2 separate regions of the Homo sapiens genome follow, and region 2 is linked to region 1. The links are contacts of gene promoters, found by promoter capture Hi-C in blood cells and fetal thymus (Javierre and others, 2016). All regions are on one chromosome and are shown on one strand. Each heading gives the region's core, a stretch centred on a gene start or on the middle of the fragment in contact. The rest is flanking DNA. Distances are from core to core; before and after follow the strand shown. Region 1 holds the start of FBP1 (fructose-bisphosphatase 1). Region 2 has its middle 51 kb from the start of HSD17B3-AS1.

Region 1 (3,085 bases), core at 228-2,727:
GCACCATTGCACTCCAGCCTGGGCAACAAGAGCAAAATTCCATCTCAAAAAAAAAAAAAAAAAGAAAAGAAAAAGAAAATACCTGTGCACACCAACACAAACGAAAGGATGTTGTGTGACTTACAAAAAACCTCACAAGAAGGGGTCCTTTGAGTCTCCACTCCACTTGACCCCTTGCTACTCACAATGTGATGAGTAGACAAACAGTATCTGATGGGCAGCACCCACCACAGGAGAACTTCTTAGAAATGCAGAATCTCAGGACCTGTCCCAGAGCTATGGAAGGAGGGCACACATCTTACCAAGATCCCCAAATGATTCCTGTGCCCAGTGACGTTCGAGATGCACTCCATAGCGCATTCAGAACCATTCTACAAACCACTTTTGAGCTTTCCACTAATTGGGCAGAGGCTGCACACACCATCATTGCAAATCGATAGGGGTTTTGAAGCCCTGGGTGTTTCCTGTTTCTGGCACAGCATGGCAACTGTCCCAGCAAGGGGCAGCCCACGGGAGCTCCTTTGCACACAAGCCCTGCTGCTCCTAAAGGCTCTGGACACACAGGAGACCTCCCAGCCTGCTTGCGGGGGGGGCGGGGGGGACACTCGCTCCTAACAGGTCTTGTTTCAGGTCAGAGATAACTGGATTAGAAACCTGACTTGGGTCCCTAATTGCAGAAAGAGTGAAGGAGGACAAAGAAGAAATGGGGAAGGAAGGCACCTGAGCTAGCACTTTCCTGTCTGAGGCTAGGGCGGGTATGACGGGCAGGCCAGGTGCCCACACTTGGCCGGCTGAGAGGGGTACGAGGCAGGCTGCTCAGGGCAGAGAAGAGGAATGCAAGATGGAATCAGGTGTACACCTGTGAGACGGACCCCCAGGTGGGCCCCTCCAAGGTCAAGGGAGGAGATGAGGACTTGAGTGAGGCTGAGCCAGCTTCTGGAGAGAGGGGCTACCAGACAGAGAGCGAGAGAGGCGCTCAGACATCAGACGGACAGACAGAGGCTGACGGCAGGAGGCTCAGAGGGCCCAACGTCAGCCCGCCGGGCAGGCTCCCCAGGCAGACAGACAGGACGGGGCCCACCGCCCAAGGCCCGACTCACAGGTGCGCGATGCCCGCCTTGCGCACCGCCGAAGAGATGGCTTTGACTGCTGTGCAGAGCGAGTTGAGCAGCTGGGTCAACTCGCCCGTGCCGCGGGCCTTCCTGCCCTCCTCCATGACGAAGCGGGTCAGGGTGTTGACGTCCGTGTCGAAGGGCGCCTGGTCAGCCATGCTTGAACCGGGTAGAGCGCGGGGCTGCAGGTGCAAGCGGCAGGTGCGGGGCTGCAGGTGCGGGCGGCAAGAGAGGGCAGTAGGCACTGGCCGCAGGTGCGGAGCTGCAGGTGCGGGCGGCAGGTGCGGGCCGCGGGACCTGGCGGGAGGACTGACAGACCGACTGCCGCCCCGAGTGTCCGCAGCGCTCGTGGTGCAACTGGGCCAGGCCAGGCGCCGGCGGGTGAATCGCGGAAACCTTTAGACGCGGGTCGGCCCCCCGCCCCCGGGAACACTCTTGCGCCCCGCCTACCCCGCGGACCAGACCGCGGCTCCGCCTGCTTGGATCTTCAGACAAGGTCGGGGATCCTCCCTGCGGTCTCCCAACCCCCGCCCCCACGCGCCCTGCCGCCCCCTAGTCTTCCTGGGCTGTCGCCCCCCACACACACCCCTCCGTGCCCTCCACCCGCACTGTGGAGCGGGACTCGGGCCATCGGACTCTGCCAGAGAGAAAGCTATGACTGTTTCCTCCAAAATCATAAAACGGAAGTTCAGAAAGGTTAAGTAACTTGCTCAATGCCACCAGCTAGGCAGCGAAACCCGCAGCCAGTCCACATGGCCTGGCTTTAGCTCTGCAGCTCCTGCCCCGTGTGGCTGCCTGCCCCCGCCCCCTGCCCAAGCCCCGTCCACTCTGCCTGGCCTGTCACCTGGCCCTTCTGTCCCCGCTAGGAGACACAGAGTCCCCGTTTCTCACCCATCTGAGGGCCCACGTCTGAATCCTTAATCCAGGCCTCTTCTCAAGATTCCTAGAATTCGAGAGCTATTGAGTATTTGAATTTCCAAGATGTGAGTCTCGCCCGGAAGTTTCCCGGAAAACGGTCGCTGACACAGAGTCCTCGGCTACCACACAAAGGCCAGAGGGCTCCACCGCCCGCATCCTGACCCCCTGGTAGCCACAATGCTGCAATTGATGTGCTGATTCACGAAACAACACCTATTGAGCACCTGCTGTGCTGAACACTGTCCTACCTTCCAGGGGTGGAGCCTGATCCAAACAGACAAAACTCCTGCCCTTTTCGAGTGTACGTTTTCACAGAGAAACAGTAAAAATAAATATATAAACAATAGATTAGTTTGTTACATAAGCCATAAGTACCATAGAGAGAAACGAAATAGAAAAGGAAGACACGGAATGTGGAGGGGAGAAGAGGGTGAGCAGAGGCCTCAGTAAAAGCTTCTCTGAGAAAGGGATATGTGAGCAAAGAGGTGAAGGATGCAACGCGCCGGTGGAGATGGGAAGGAGAGCGGTTTCCTCACCGGGAGAGCCAGTGCACAGGCCCTGGGGTAGGAGACCATGTTTCAGGTTCAGGGAATGGCCAGGAGACCGGTGGAGCTGAAATAGAGCTAGCAAGGGTCAGAGGTGGAGGAGATAAGGCCAGCGGGAGGATGCAGAGGTGAGGTCTAGAGGGCCAAGTGAGGTTTGACTTTGACTAGGAGGAACCCACTGGAGAGTTTGGAGAAGAAGAGAGGCATGGTCTACCCTGTGTCTTCATACTGCGGCTACTGTGTGAAGATCAGACTGAAGACAGTGCCCTCCAGGTTACTAGGAGATAGTGAGCCAGGTGTTAGCAGTGGAGGTGGTGGATTCTGGACATATTTTGAAGGTAGAGCTGATGGGATTCGTTGACAGATGAGATATGTGAGAGACAGGAGTCTCGGATGATTCTAAGGTTTGAGGCCTGAGAAACTAGAAGAATGCAGTTGTCCTCGACTGCGATGGGGAACACCGAGAGGGGCGTGTGCTGGAGGCAGGACTGACAATTAGGAGCTAAGTGT
Region 2 (3,100 bases), core at 479-2,978, 1.6 Mb after region 1:
GACCATGTAGGGAGCCCAGACTCCCATCCCCACCCAGCAGTAATGAGGCACCTCTCCCCTCCCCACTGGAGTGGCATCAGAGGAGGCCAAGTGGAGTGTCTAGATTTTCACTTCCATTCAACAATAAAAGGGCCACATCCCCCACAGTGTCAGAGGAGGCCATGAGGGAGCAGTAACAAGACAACCCTCCCTATCCCAGCCAGGGTGGTCTCCACAAAAGGGGAAGTGATATTCTGATTAGGCCAGCAGGATCAGTTTCTCAATGTGAGCCTGTCCCAGTATCTTACAAGACCTCATTCATGTGACTAGAACAGCTCTAAACTGTAGCCACAACTGCAAACATAATGCCAACCGTAACCTGAATTTTCAGACCTGTCCACTTTGGGGGGGCAACTGTCAGAGGCTCACTTTCCTATGTCCCTAGCTGAGTCCTCTATTTACCAAATCCAAAATCAATGCCCACCAATTCCTATGGAGTTGGGATTTTGTTTTAAGCACGATGGGAAAACAACGGAGTGGTTTAAGTGGGGTCATTAAATTTGATTTCTGTGTTTTACGCTTATCTCTTTTAGAGTTCTGAGGGTCACAGATCTTCGGAAACGGCAAGAGTGACCACAAGGAGCTCAGCAAAGGTCATGGTCAGGTGGTAGGCAAAGGTGGCTTGGACAAGGGCAACAGCAGTAGAAACCATGAAAAATGACCAAATTTAACACACATTTTTAGGGTAGAGCCAGAAGGACTTGCTGTTGGATTGGACATGGAGTGTGAGAGAAGATGAGGAACTGGTGTTTCCAGTCAAAGCACTGAATGGGGAAATCATTAACTGGGCTGGGAAAGGCCGAGGTAGGAGTGGGTTTGGAGGTAAGGAAGGAATTATGTTTTAGACACCACAAGTCTGAGATGCCTATTAGACATCCATACTTTACAGAGAAAATAAATAACATCATCGGTTGGGCACTCCCTCATCTTCTGCTGTCTAATCTAGTGTCCAGAAGCATCTCTGTGCACCTCCCTGTCCCTTCCTATTGCCATGGAGGACGTCCCAGGTATCCACGTCCATCCTCTCTACCTTACCTCCTCTCACCTCCACAAGGCCTTGCCCTCTAGAAACATTCTCCTCTCTGTTTTTTGTTTTTGTTTTTGTTTCAGACAGTCTCACTCTGTTGCCCAGGCTGGAGTGCAGTGGCACGATCTCGGCTCACTGCAACCTCTGCCTCCCAGGTTCAAGCGATTCTCCTGCCTCAGCCTCCTGAGTAGCTGGGATTACAGGCGCCCGCCACCACACCCGGCTAATTTTTGTATTTTTAGTAGAGACGGGGTTTCACTATGTTAGTCAGCTGGTCTTGAACTCTTGACCTCATGATCTGCCCACCTCGGCCTCCTAAAGTGCTGGAATTACAGGCGTAAGCCAGCGTACCTGGCTCTCTTCTCTGTTTTTGGAACGTGATGCTCTCCTGGTTTTACTCTAACCCCCAGCCATCCTTCCAGACCCATTTTGTTGGCTTCTCCTTCCTCTACCAGACCTCTAAGCCTTGGGAAGCTTGAGGACTCACTCATGCTCCAACCTAGTGATATCATCCAGTTTTATGATTCTACATTCCACTTACACCCTAATGCCTCTTAAATTTTTTTCTCTATCACCACTTCTCTCCTGAACTCCAGACTTATCTAGCCTGCTGCCTATTTGACATCTCTCCTCAGATGACTTGGGAAAGAAGAAGGGAATGGAAGAAGTTTGAGGCAAGAAGCAATGTGTGAAATAGTCCGACGACTACAACAAGAGCAAGCATCATGGGATTGCTAGGCGTTGTGCCATTTGATGTTTGAAGTGAAGCCAGTCATTTCTGCTTAGCAATTTTCAATTTTCTCCAGCTGCTCAGGAATAGGAACAAAAAAGGCAGACAACTGGGTCCAATCAAGCTTGGGGTCTTCAAGTAGAGTACTTCTGTTTTGATTACTACACAGCAAACCTCCTCAAAACTTGGTGGCTCTAAAGAACAGCAATTTGATTCTATCTCAAAGGTCAGGAATTCAGGCAGGTCTCAGCTGGATGCTTCTTATGCTCCTCGTAGCATTGGCAGAGGTCACTCAATGGGACTCAGCTGGGAGACAGGCTGGTCTGGAGCATCCAAGACAGCTTTCCTCACGTGTCTGGCACCTTGAGATGGCAGGAAGGCTGGGACCACAAGGACCCCTGAGACTGTTGACTCAAGAGCCTATATAGTCTTTCTAGCATGGAAGTTTCAGGGCAATTGGATACTTACTTGATTGGCTGATTTCCCCAGAGTAAGAATCCCAGAGGGACCAGGGGACAGCTGTGGGGCCATTTCCAAGCTAGTGCTGTTACTTCTAATGCATTATTTTTATTTATTTTATTTTATTTTTTATTTTATTTTATTTTTACTTTTGTAGAGACAGGATCTTGTTATGTTGCCCAGGCTGGTCTCGAACTCCTGGCTTCAAGCAATCCTCCCACCTTGGCCTCCCAAAGTGCTGGGATTATAGGTGTGAGTCAACATGCCCAGCCCACTGCATTCTTTTAGATATAATGAAGTCATATGGCCAGTCCAGATTCAAGGGCAAGGAATCAGACTCCACTTCTCAATGGGAAATAGCAAGGTCACATTGTGGAGGAGTGGGTAGAAGGATCACCTTTGGAAAATACAGCCTGCCACATGCAGGACAGAGGACAGCCAGGAAGGGGCACAGAGGTTTTCTTGAAGGGAATGATAATACACATGACCATGACATCTAACTGGAGAATGAGTTAGGGGAAGCCTTTGACAGGCAAAGTGTAGGGTTTAGTGGGTTACAGCCTTTGATGAGATTGAGGAATCTTAGCAGCCAGGAGACTAGAACAACAGGGAGTGCTTGTCAGAGAATGGAATGCTTGAAAATGAGATTTGGATAAAATGACTTCTGTGAATGATGAGACTCAGTGTGTGACCACGGAAGTGGATGGTTGCAGTGGAGGGGAAAAAGGGTCCTTAGTGCTACAATGTCAAGGACAAATAGCCAAGGAGGTGGATGGGTGCTCTACTTGGATATTGAACTCCCTGTGATTGAGGACATGAGTGGGGGTGAAGAGGGAGGTCAGGCG

Evidence for each region. The method cuts DNA at HindIII sites, captures the fragments that hold promoters and counts their contacts. A CHiCAGO score of 5 or more calls a contact.
Region 2: a contact is called between a fragment that was not itself captured here and the fragment with the promoter of FBP1 in region 1, in 1 of 17 cell types (total CD8 T cells). The highest score is 5.0, in total CD8 T cells.

Annotation. Positions count from the first base shown.
Region 1 is chr9:94,638,041-94,641,125 of GRCh38, forward strand. FBP1 (fructose-bisphosphatase 1) reads right to left here and starts at 1,478. Exons shown (of 7, transcript NM_000507.4): 1 at 1,101-1,478. The coding sequence starts at 1,270. RefSeq lists a silencer at 1,552-1,611. The HindIII fragment of the contact is 3,451 bases long and covers 1-2,481 here.
Region 2 is chr9:96,193,944-96,197,043 of GRCh38, forward strand. No RefSeq gene overlaps it. Among named protein-coding and RNA genes, the nearest start is that of HSD17B3-AS1, 51 kb to the right of the region's middle. The HindIII fragment of the contact is 380 bases long and covers 1,539-1,918 here.